Regions from separate parts of the Homo sapiens genome. Here region 1 is linked to region 2. The links are contacts of gene promoters, found by promoter capture Hi-C in blood cells and fetal thymus (Javierre and others, 2016). All regions are on one chromosome and are shown on one strand. Each heading gives the region's core, a stretch centred on a gene start or on the middle of the fragment in contact. The rest is flanking DNA. Distances are from core to core; before and after follow the strand shown.

What was found. The method cuts DNA at HindIII sites, captures the fragments that hold promoters and counts their contacts. A CHiCAGO score of 5 or more calls a contact.
Region 1: a contact is called between the fragment with the promoter of ATG5 here and the fragment with the promoter of SESN1 in region 2, in 1 of 17 cell types (total CD4 T cells). The highest score is 6.7, in total CD4 T cells.

The regions. Positions count from the first base shown.
Region 1 is chr6:106,321,931-106,327,364 of GRCh38, forward strand. ATG5 (autophagy related 5) reads right to left here and starts at 3,830. Exons shown (of 8, transcript NM_004849.4): 1 at 3,596-3,830. RefSeq lists enhancers at 991-1,491, 1,492-1,992, 3,640-3,689, 3,710-4,029. The HindIII fragment of the contact is 6,577 bases long and covers 1-5,211 here.
Region 2 is chr6:109,093,074-109,098,842 of GRCh38, forward strand. SESN1 (sestrin 1) reads right to left here and starts at 1,773. Exons shown (of 10, transcript NM_014454.3): 1 at 722-1,773. The coding sequence starts at 1,000. CEP57L1 (centrosomal protein 57 like 1) reads left to right here and starts at 2,434. Exons shown (of 11, transcript NM_001271852.3): 1 at 2,434-2,502. RefSeq lists enhancers at 1,141-1,290, 2,161-2,420 and a silencer at 1,401-2,100. The HindIII fragment of the contact is 3,523 bases long and covers 1-2,109 here.

The sequences.
Region 1 (5,434 bases), core at 2,580-5,079, 2.8 Mb before region 2:
ATATATGAATCTAGCTACTTAAGAAATTTTCTCCCTAAACTCCTCTCCAAATCAGTATAGTCGCACTTTAAATTCGGCATATTTTGTTATTTTAGAAAGATTTTCCCTCTCCTACATACACTACACCATCCAATCACCATCCAATTTCAAGGAACTGTCTTGGAAATAAAGAAACTCCAACCTGTGACGCAATCTACTAGAAGTAAGTTTCTTGAGGGCAGGGGCTATTATTGACTTCTATTTTCTGCATCTAGTTCAGAGCCTGGGACAGAGTAGGTGCCCACCAACAACATCTGTTAACCAATCAGTCATTCAGAAAATGGCACGGTGTGACAACAATATAATGCATAATAGTTTCTTTCACACTACATACCAAGAAAAACTAACCTACTACCTGAAGTAATTTTCACTGACAAAACCCCCAACTACCTAGAAATATCAAATACTTACTAAACTAAGCGTGTAAACAGAAAAAAAATTATAATCTATGCTGGCTGGTCTTCCTTTAAATTCATAAACACTAGTTTCCTACTCTTCCCTAGTCCATTTATTCTCCCACTTTCCTACATCACTATTCTATACCTTCTCCTCCCTCAAATGTTCACTTCTTCCTCCTCCTCCTCCTCTCTCTCAGCTAATGACCTTGCTTTCTATTTCCTTCTATCCAGGTACTGTGAATCAGTGATTCTCAAGAGGAATTTTACTCAACAGTCCCACCCTGGGAGGGAGGAAATTTTGTAAATCTCTCCAAACTGTAAATGTTGAAATGCCCCAGGACTCAGTCCTTGAACCACTCCCTTGAAGATCTCTCACATGGTTTTAAATAACACTTATACATTTACACTCCCACAGTTTTATCTTCTGTCCAGACTTCTCTTTTGAACTGGCTGGCTTCACATATACCACCACATATGACATTTCCATTTAGAAATTTAACATATGCAAAACGGAAAACCATTTCAGATCTTCCTTCCTCCTCTCTCCTATCATTTATTTTATTTTATTTTGAGACGGGGTCTCGCTCTGTCGCCCAGGCTGGAGTGCAGTGGCGCAATCTCGGCTCTCTGCAAGCTCTGCCTCCCGGGTTCATGCCATTCTCCTGCTTCAGCCTCCCAGTGGCTGGGACTACAAGCGCTTGCCACCAGGCTCGGGTTTGTTTTTTTTGTTTGTTTGTTTTTTTGTATTTTTAGTAGAGACGGGGTTTCACCGTGTTAGCCAGGATGGTCTCGGTCTCCTGACCTCGTGATCCGCCCGCCTTGGCCTCCCAACAAAAAGTTCTCCTATCATTATCACTCTGTGGTCTTTTCCGTTTCGCTAAGTGGAAAAGTCCTTTTTTTTTTTTTTTTTTTTTTTTTTAAAGAGACAGGGTCTTGCTGTCACCCAGGATGGACTACAGTGAAGGATCATGGGTCACTGTAACCTTGAGCTCAAGGGGGTCAAGTGATCCTCCCCTCCCATCTCAGCTTCCCAAGTAGCCAGGACTACAGGCTCATGCCACTATGCCCAGCTAATTTTTTATTTTTTTGTAGAGACAGGGTCTCGTTATGTCGCCCAGGCTGGGGATTCTCTCAAAGATGGTATTACAAGCATGAGCCATCACGCCCGGCCAAGTTATATTCTTTAGTTGCTCAGTCCGTAACCCTTGGAGTCGTCCTTGACCCTTCTTCTACCTGACTGCTCTCAAAAGTCTAGAATCTGGTCATTTCGCACTACCGCCACTATTACTACCCTGATTCAAGTCACCTCGACCTTTAACCTGGATAAATGCAGTCAATGGCCTACTAACAACTCTTATTTCTGCACCTGCTGCATACAGTCAACATAGCAATCAGATCTTTTAAAACACAAGTTAGATCAACTCACTGCTTACTCAAAACCCAACTCATTCAAAGTACAAATTAAGGTTCTTATAAATTCCCACATGCTCCTAAATGACTTGGCCCCATTTCCACCTAAGTATCCACTACTTCTTTCCCTCTTGTTCATTATTTTCCAGTCAAACTAGCTAGTATGCGCCTGCTTCAGGGCTTCAGTGGCAGCTCCTTCCAAGTGGCACCCTTCTTTATCACCCGTAGGCCTCCAAGTTAATATCATCTTTTCTATGGCCACCACTCCCATCTCTTGGCATTCCCTATACCCCTGCACTGCTTTGGTTTTTTTCTCTAGCACTTTCCGCCACTTGACGTACACAGTTGGCCCTTCCTACCCATGGGTTCTTCGTCCTTGTATTCAACCAATCATGGATGAAAAAATATTCGGGGAAGGAAAAAAAAGTCAGTACTGAACATGTATAGACTCTTTTTTGTCATTATTCCCTAAACAATACACCATAACAACTATTTATACAGCATTTAAGTTGTATTGCGCATTATAAATAATGCAGAGTTGAACTAAAGATAGGAGGATGTGCATAGGTTATCTGCAAACACTACACCATTTTATATCAGGGACTTGAGCATTTGAGGACTTTGGTATCCAAGGGAGGTCCTGGAACCAATCTCCCACAGATGCCGAGGGACAGGAAAGACTGTACCTTAATTTTTGTATCAATGTCTTCTCACCCCATCCCCAAAGTGGAACTTCATGATGGCAGGGATTTTTATTCTTTTGTTTACTATTTTGTTTACTGTTTTGTCCAGTGCCTAACACATAGGAGGTACTCAGTTTGGGGGAAATTAATGAAATAAATACACACTTGAGGTGTGTGCACTATTCTAAAAATCCATATCCATACAGTTCCATTCTGTACACTTTCCCCCAATTTTAAGTAGCATATCTTTGAAGATAAAAGCACAGGCTTAAATCTGGTGTAAAATACCTCTCAATTACTACCCTGAGCACAACATCGTTATTTTCAAATTCAAAATTCAACCAGAAACTCCCTCTATGGAAATCACAAATAGTTCAGTTCAGAGCCAAGTATCCAGTTTCAAGGTCTCAGAAATTTAACAAGCCAATTCTGGAAGGCTTTGGAAGTTCAGCTACTGTCTGGTAAGTCTCCGGGTTCTGATTGCTCAAGACAGGCTGTACCTCCTCACCCCTCAGAAAAATCTAGAACCAATAGTTTCCTAGGTTCCTCAAGTTCAGGATAATTTTAAAATAATCCAAAGTACAAATGAAGTATGTAAAAGTGTCTTGCCAACAGAAAATGTCTTTGGTAGCACTAAATATTGTTATTGAGACAGGGAATATCGTAAATAGATAAATTGCTTGGAGGACATACCCACCGAGTTTGGACAGACTCACACTGCACTGTGCAATAAAGGTTTAAATAACTGTGTTCCACAAACAATTCAGGTCCTGAACTGAACTCTAGAGCCTGCGACTAGACTCTCGCTTTCCTACCTTAGTAAGCAACAGACATGTACCCCAAGAGGGACCCCGCAGGCCACACCCGCCAACCGGCCCCAGGGCTCCGGGCCGGCGTCTCGCCAACTCCACCTTGCCCGGAGGAACCACCTTCACCCGCCATCGCGGCCGGGCGGGCGCTCCTCCAGGCAACTACTCACCCCTCCTTCCTACCACACCTACCTGGCCCCTCCCCAGCCCTCCTCCTCTAGGAATTTCCTCACACAAGGTGGACACACACACGTACCCTACTCCAAGCTATGGCTCCTCCTTCCGGCTCCCCGCACTGGTGGGGACGCCCAGATTCCGCGCTCCGGTGGGGCGGCGGGGCAAGCTGCCCGCCTGACACACTGTCCTGCGGGGACGCGGTAGCAGGACTCCAGGAAGCCCGCGCAGCCGCAAAAAGCACCGGCGCGGAGGTCGGAGCTGAACCCTGCTGCACTTCCGCCCTCTGGTATCCAGCGAATACAACCGGCAACGCTGCGGAGCCCTGGCAGCGCACCACAAGTCCAGTCACCCTCGGCGCCCGGAGATGACGTCACGAGACCCCACGTGGTCCGAACTCCGCCCTCCGTGTTCTGCCTAACCCAGCAAGGAGGCCCGAGTCGCTCTTGAGCATGCGCCAACGGGGCAGTACGCTTGAACTCGCGACCAAACCTCTCCAAGTTCATAGCTTCTACCCTCTTCTGAGAATCTTGCGTCAAAGCGTAGTTATTGGGGCTTGGGGAGGTTAACTTAACAGTTCCACAAAAACAGTTTTTAAAATACTGAAACACTGCCTCCCTAGAGCTTGATCGCAACATCCCTTTCTTCCTGGCATCACACAACAGTATTAATAAAACATTAGTTTTCAAAGTACTTTCCCATCCATTTTCTTATTTGATCTTCTTCTCTACTTTGTTGGAACCACCGCAGGCATTAATAACCTAATTTAACAGAAGACTATATGAGCACTGAACCCTCCCACCCATCCAAGAGTACATATCTTTATCTTACTCTTTGTAAAAATAATTGGGGCCGGGCGCGGTGGCTCACGCCTGTAATCCCAGCACCTTGGGAGGCCGAGGCGGGCGGATCACGAGGTCAGGAGATCGAGACCATCATGGCTAACACGGTGAAACCCCGTCTCTACTAAAAATACAAAAAAAATTAGCCGGGCGCGGTGGCGGGCTTCTGTAGTCCCAGCTACTGGAGAGTCTGAGGCAGGAGAATGGCGTGAACCCGGGAGGTGGAGCTTGCAGTGAGCCAAGATAGGGCCACCGCAGTCCCGCCTGGGCGAAAGAGCGAGACTCCGTCTCAAAAAAAAAATAGTAATAATTGGTAAACTTACTAATAAAGAATCTTTGAATTGGCTCTATCCAGAAGTCTTAGCAGGCATTTAAGGTTTTTCTCTTAATTACACGTGCCTTAACGCCATGCATGTTAAGTAAGTACTGTGCTGAGACTCAAAACAGGTTCTTGATAATTGGGAACATAAGGAAAATTCTAGTAGTAGCCACAGGATTCTTTTAAAAAGAAAAATCTTCTTGGAGTTGGACTAAGTACAATGATTTTCAAATGGTAAATTACAGTACATTAGTGGGTATCTAAATCAAGTTAGGGAAGCATGCCCAGCATCTTTTTAAATGAAATAAAATAGAAAATATCAGCATGCTTCACACATGTAAAGGGTAAATATTGTGTCCCAAAATTTTTACTTCAGTATGTATGTGGTGTACACTGGATAGGAATGTGAAATACATTTCTTAGTAAGGGTAGCAGTCAGAAAAGTTTGAAAGCCACAGTTATGGTCCTCTTCACCTACTCAATGCAGAAATCCTCACTACAGTGTCCCCAGTAAACAGCTATTAGCCTCTGTAAGAAAGCTTGTGGGATTAAGGTGCATTGCCTTCCCAGTGTCAGACAAAAGTATATAAAATTTCCTTTAAAATGTATCTAAAAAATAAGATGGATTTAGGGGCGCATAGATGGATAAATATGTGATTAACCAAATATAGTAAAATATAATGGTAGAATATAATGGTAAAATATAATGGTAGAATCTAGATGGTAGAATCTAGGTTCATTGTAAATGGGTATTCACTGT
Region 2 (5,769 bases), core at 523-3,022:
ACACCTTGTAATAAAACAGGATAAATTATGAACGAAATGGAGGAAAAACTATAATATTTTTAACCTGCTGCACTCGTATCTTAAATAGCTACACATGTGAAAAAGAAACAATTCAGGCAAACACAGAGAAAGCTAGTTGAGCAATTTGCCATAAAAGTGTTTCTATCAAATACCCCACCTGGGTCCACCTTTTCAACATGAAGATATTAGCTTCTTTTAAGATAGGTTTTTATTATTTTATATAATTCTCTTCTTGAAAAAAGAGAGGTTGCATTTAGAGAACACATCCTGGTTTGTTTTGTTTTTAAAAATAAGAGAAAATTGTTCCACCAATTATCTTGAACAGGCTGACTAGGAAACATTTAATATCCTTTATCATTTTAGAGGCTTTTAAATGTGAGCCTTTACACTCAGAACACTGTGACAATGTGAAAAAAAAACACTGGCTACATTTTCCAACAACATGTAAAAAGAAATATAAGGAAAAACAAGTATTTACTTGGAATTAACTGTAGTTTTCATATATTCTTCCAGGAGCAAAGCAGTTTCTGCCTAAAACTCTAGAAAAACACTACTTGTTTACTTACAGAACACTCTAAAGATGTAAACTCATAATAAAAGTTTACATAACAACCTAATAGAAACAAACACAACGTGAATAACGGCAAGTAAAATTTAACTGTAGTAGAGACATAGTTGTATTTAAAATGCTCTTCCTTACCTGGATGCTCTTCAGAATAAACTCACTTTTCTCTCTCACATCTTTGAAGGGACACCTCTTAGAAAGCATAAGCAGATGAGCAAGTAGCTTATTCAACCCATCCGAAGACTCGGTATTTGAAAGCCCGTCTGATGGACGATGAGGTGTTTCTTTCACCGAACGAAGATACTCGGTTTTCCTCAAAATGGTTTGCCTAATGTTTTCCAATGCTGTCTCCCTAGTAGTTGAATCTCTGCTGCAGAGTCCATCCCATCTCACTTCATTCTCTCCTTCAGCCATGACAATAGTTTTTCCTTTGCGGTCTTCAGTTACCTTTCAGCATGCCCCAAAAAAATTGCTTTGTATTTTTAAAATGAAAAATGTAAAAATAAAATCAGAGAAATCAAATCGTCATGAAAACACACATCTGGGTGACATTTGGAACCACTGGTGCCTTCAGCCGATCTACAAGCTAGGTCACCCTCTCACCCTCTCCTTGTACACGAAAGGGCAGTCTTCTTTCTGGAAAAACAAAGTTTGAAAGTTGCAACCTTGCAGCGCTGGCTTTGGTGGGCAGAGAATTTCGGGGAAGCGTTCTCCTCCGTCTCGCGGGGTCAGTGGATATCCTCACGTTGTGGAGCTGTCAAATCCGTGCTCTGCCCCAAAAGGCTGTTAACAGCTGAACGCCCTCCAGCCATTCGGGGCTTTTTTGTCTGTGCAGCCACCGGGTTCTCTCCGGCGTTCCCACCCCGCCCCTTCTCCGACACCAGTCCCCGCCCTCCGCAGCTCCTCCCAGCGCCTCAGCAGCCGGCCGGCGCCGGCAGGGAAGGCTCGCCGAACCCTGGCCCACTGGCCGCAGCGGCCGGAGGCTTGGGCGCTGTCGGAGGGCGGCAGTCTCGGGCAGCCGTAGTCTCGGCGGGCGGCGGTGAAAAAAAGCGTCCCCCAGCCCCGCCAATTCGGCACCCCCGGGAAGACGCTACTTCTCCGATCCCTGAGCCCTCGCCCACCACCGCCGAGCCAGAGGGCACAGGGCGGCCCTGGCAATCCTCGAGCGCCAGGCTGGGCCGCGGAGCTGGCGGGGCGGCGGGGCCCGAGGCGCAAAGCCCGCCCTTCGCCCAGCCCCATCGGTGGGGATCAGCCCAGAGGGCGGGAGCAGGGAGTGGAGACGGGGTCCTCACCCCCAGCCCCTCCCCTTTCTCCGCCCGGCACAAACCGGGAGCCGCCCCGGCCCCAGCGCCTTCTTCCCCGCCCAGGCAGACGCGACCCGCCGAGGCAAAGCCTTAGGAAAAAGCCCCGCCCTCTGGCAGGCTACCCTCCGGACCCCAAGTGCGCCGCGCGCGGCTGCCAGCCACTGCCGGCTGCTACGCATGCGTGACTGCGAACTGGGCCAAGCGCCCCCGGAGGCGCTAAGCTTGCGCCCTGAGGCGGTTTCCGTTCCCGGACGTTTGGACTCTGTCCTGGAGAAGGGGAAGGAAAAAGTAAGACGTAGAAGTACACTGAGACTTCGTCACACATAAAACAAGCACGACAAAGAAAGAGGGCGCGAAGGGACTCCTGGAAGAAATTGAGTCTACATTTAAGATCACCCTAAAAGTAGTGACGGCCTCTTCATTACTCCAAACCCCAGATTTAAGTCGGTAGGACGTCTTCGCGTTGACTTGTGGGGAATGTAGTTTCGATGCTGCCGGCGCGTTTTGTTTGCGACAGAAACTACAACCCCCAGGGGCCACCGCGACGTTGCCTGTGGGTGCCCGCGAACCAACGGTTAGCGGTGGCAGGGGCTGACTGAGAGCGTCTGCTTGGTAAGCACTGTAAGCTGGGTTGTCACCTTTCCTTGACAGGGTTTTTCCTTCCTCCATTTCCTCTGGGATTTTGGAGACAAAGCCATCTAGGGTGGCCTCCCTTAGTCCAAGGACTTTTTCCAGTGACTTGCGTGGGAAGGACTAGTCCAGCTGCCCAAGCGCGGGGTGTGGTGGGTGAGGCAAGGATTTGGGATCCTGATCCCAAGGGTCGCAGGGAGCGGCCTAAGTAAGGCCAAGAAGGAAGGATGCTGTGGAAACTGGAGCTTCGCGCTGCTGCCTCTGATTCCGCCCTTTTTTGTGGACACACGCGGGGTGGATTTGGGATCTCCGCGCATTTGCACCTTTGTTTGCCTTTGCTTAGGGATGTTCTGGGCTTTATTTGCTCAGTCAAATGAAATCCTAGGCAGGGCTTTGAAAGCAAGTTGTCAAATCCATCTCGTAAAAGAATCCCCAGTATTCCTAGATAGGAATTCTTGCAGGCTTTAAGGATACAGCAGGAAAAAGAAAGCAAAACCGTAAAAGTCTCCAAAACTTAGTCGACTTTTTCAAAAGATTCAGTCATTTGCTTAAAATTAGTTTGCTTTTAAAAAGTTATTATTTGAGAAAAGTCGAGGTTTGAACGGCCATCAGTGGACTGATAATCGGTGTAGATTTTAATTCTTTACATTGCAGAATTGCATTGCACTAAATTCTAAAAATTTCGTCTTGCTAGGCACTGAGTATACAACAATGAAAAAGACAGTCTTACTAGTTAGAGGAACTAGTTGTTAGACATACGGTTACAATAATACATGATATCACTGGGATGTCTAGAAGGAGATGACTTAGCCCAATCTTGGAAAGTCAGGGAAATCTTCATCCCAGGGGAAATGAAGACCAAAAGAACAGCATATGCTAAGGCCCAGAGTGAGAGATAGGGTACTTTCAGGAAACGTCAGTAAGCCAAATCATGCATACTTGGCGGTGTGGGGTGGGACGGGAAGGGTGCTTTTTGTGTATTGATGCACTTAGAAGCTACAAAGAGACAGGTATTGTGAATTCTTTACATCGTTTCTGTAAGTGAGCTATTTTTGAATAGATGCATAGTTCTGATGAATTGGTCTAATTTCAAAAGCCTTGTTACATTCTGACACTTCTAGTTTGAATCTGAATTTTAAAAAGGGAATAACTTATGAGTGTGATTGAAAAAGCAAAACAAAAACCATTCCGTTTTCATCTCCTTTTTGGGATCTTCATTCTCTATCCAGCCCATAAAGGGTCGGGTAGTTTCTTAAGGCTGGGTGCCTTTTTATGCCGTAGTTAAATATGATCTCATGTATACCCATGGCTTCACCAACACCTATGACTCTCAAATGAATAGCTCCATTCAGCTTCACCTCTCAGCTTTCACAATATCTCTTGGATATTTCTTCTTGGATATCTCAAAAGCATCTCAAACTCAACATACCTAAAACCAAATGCATAGTTATCTCTTATGAATCTAATTCTTTTTCAGTGTTCCTTATTTCAGCAAAGGACACTACTATCCATCTACTTGTGAAAATTTGAAAGCTAAACATTATTCTTTATTTCTTCTTGCCCTTCATACTTCTATGGCCAAATTATTATGAAGTTCTGCCAACCTTATCTCTCAAAATATCCTTCAAATATATTTTTCTCTCCACCTGTCTTCAAACTGCGATAATCTCTCAAGACCACTACAGTAGCAATTATTCACAATGACCCTCCTCCATTAGTTCTCCATTATATCTGCCAGAATGATTTTTTGAAACTGCAGATTTGATCAGATTTTCTCTTGGTTAAAACTATTCAGTGGTGTCCTACTACTGTTAAAGACAAAACTCCTTTATAAAGCCTGACATCATCTGGTACTCTTTCAGACTAACTTCATATATTGCCCTCCAGATCAGCCATACAGTCCATTTTTCAGTCATTGGTTCTCATATTCCATTTCACCCACGCGTTTACTCAACAAATCTCTGTTGAGTCCCTTTTATATAACAGGACATTGAAGATACAGCATTGACCACAATATATAAAAATTCCTACTGTCATAGAGCTTGCATTCTACTGAGGAGAGATAATAAATAAATATGTAAAACACTTAGTAAATGAAATGAAGACAAATGCAGTGGAGAATAAAACAACTGGGAAGGGGAATGGGGAGTGCCAGGATGTGAGGGGCAAGGTTCACTTTTAAATAAGGTTGTTAGAAAAGACATAATCCAGAAGGGGACAATTGAGATATGAAGTAGGGGAGGGAATAAACCATGTAGATGCCTGGGCAAATAACATTCTAATGAAGAGAATTAGTGCAAAGGCCTTGGGCAGAAGCCTGAGTGCGCATTTGAGAAATAGCAAGAAGGCTAGTGTGGCTGGAGCACAATGAGTACAAAGAGGAGAATAACATGAGGTCACAGAGAAAGGAAGTAATGGTAGGAGAACATGTAGGTGACTGAAAGGACTAACATTTTTAATTGGGTTGGGAAAGCATTGGAGAGTTTTGCGCAGATGAGGGCATGATCTGACTTTTAAAAAATGACTACTTTTCTCTCTCTCTCTTTCTCTCTCTCTCTCTCTCCCTCTGTCTCAACGGAGTTTTGCTCTTGTTGCCCAGGCTGGAGTGCAATAGCACAATCTTGGCTCACTGCAACCTCCACCTCCCAAGTTTAAGTGATTCTTCGTCCTCGGCCTCCCAAGTAGCTGGGATTACAGGCATGCACCACCATACCTGGCTAATTTTGTGTTTTTAGTAGAGACAGGGTTTCACCATGTTGGTCAGGCTGGTCTTGAATTCCTAACCTCAAGTGATCCACCCACCTCAGCCTTGCAAAGTGCTGGATTACAGGTGTGAGCCACCGTGCCCGGCCTCTTTCTTTTTTCCTGAGACAGAATCTGACTATGTCACCCAGGCTGGAGTATAGTCATAGCTCACTGCATCCTTGAACTCCTGGGCTCAAGTAATCCTCCCACCTCAGTCTCCCAGGTAGTTGGGACTACAGGCACGTGCCAACAAGCCCAGCTAATTTTGTATTTTTTCCTTTTTTTTTTTAACTGAAATTACATAACTGAGATAATTTTTGTCTTTTTGTAGAGACAGGATCTCACTGTGTTGCCCAGGCTGGTCTTGAACTCCTCAAGTGATTGCCTCAAGTGATCCTCCTGCCTCAGCCTCCCAAAGTGCTGAGATTAGAGGCATAACCCACTGCAACTGGCCTGAAGTGAATATTTCTTTTAAATTGTGTTGAGCATAGACCATAGGGAAGC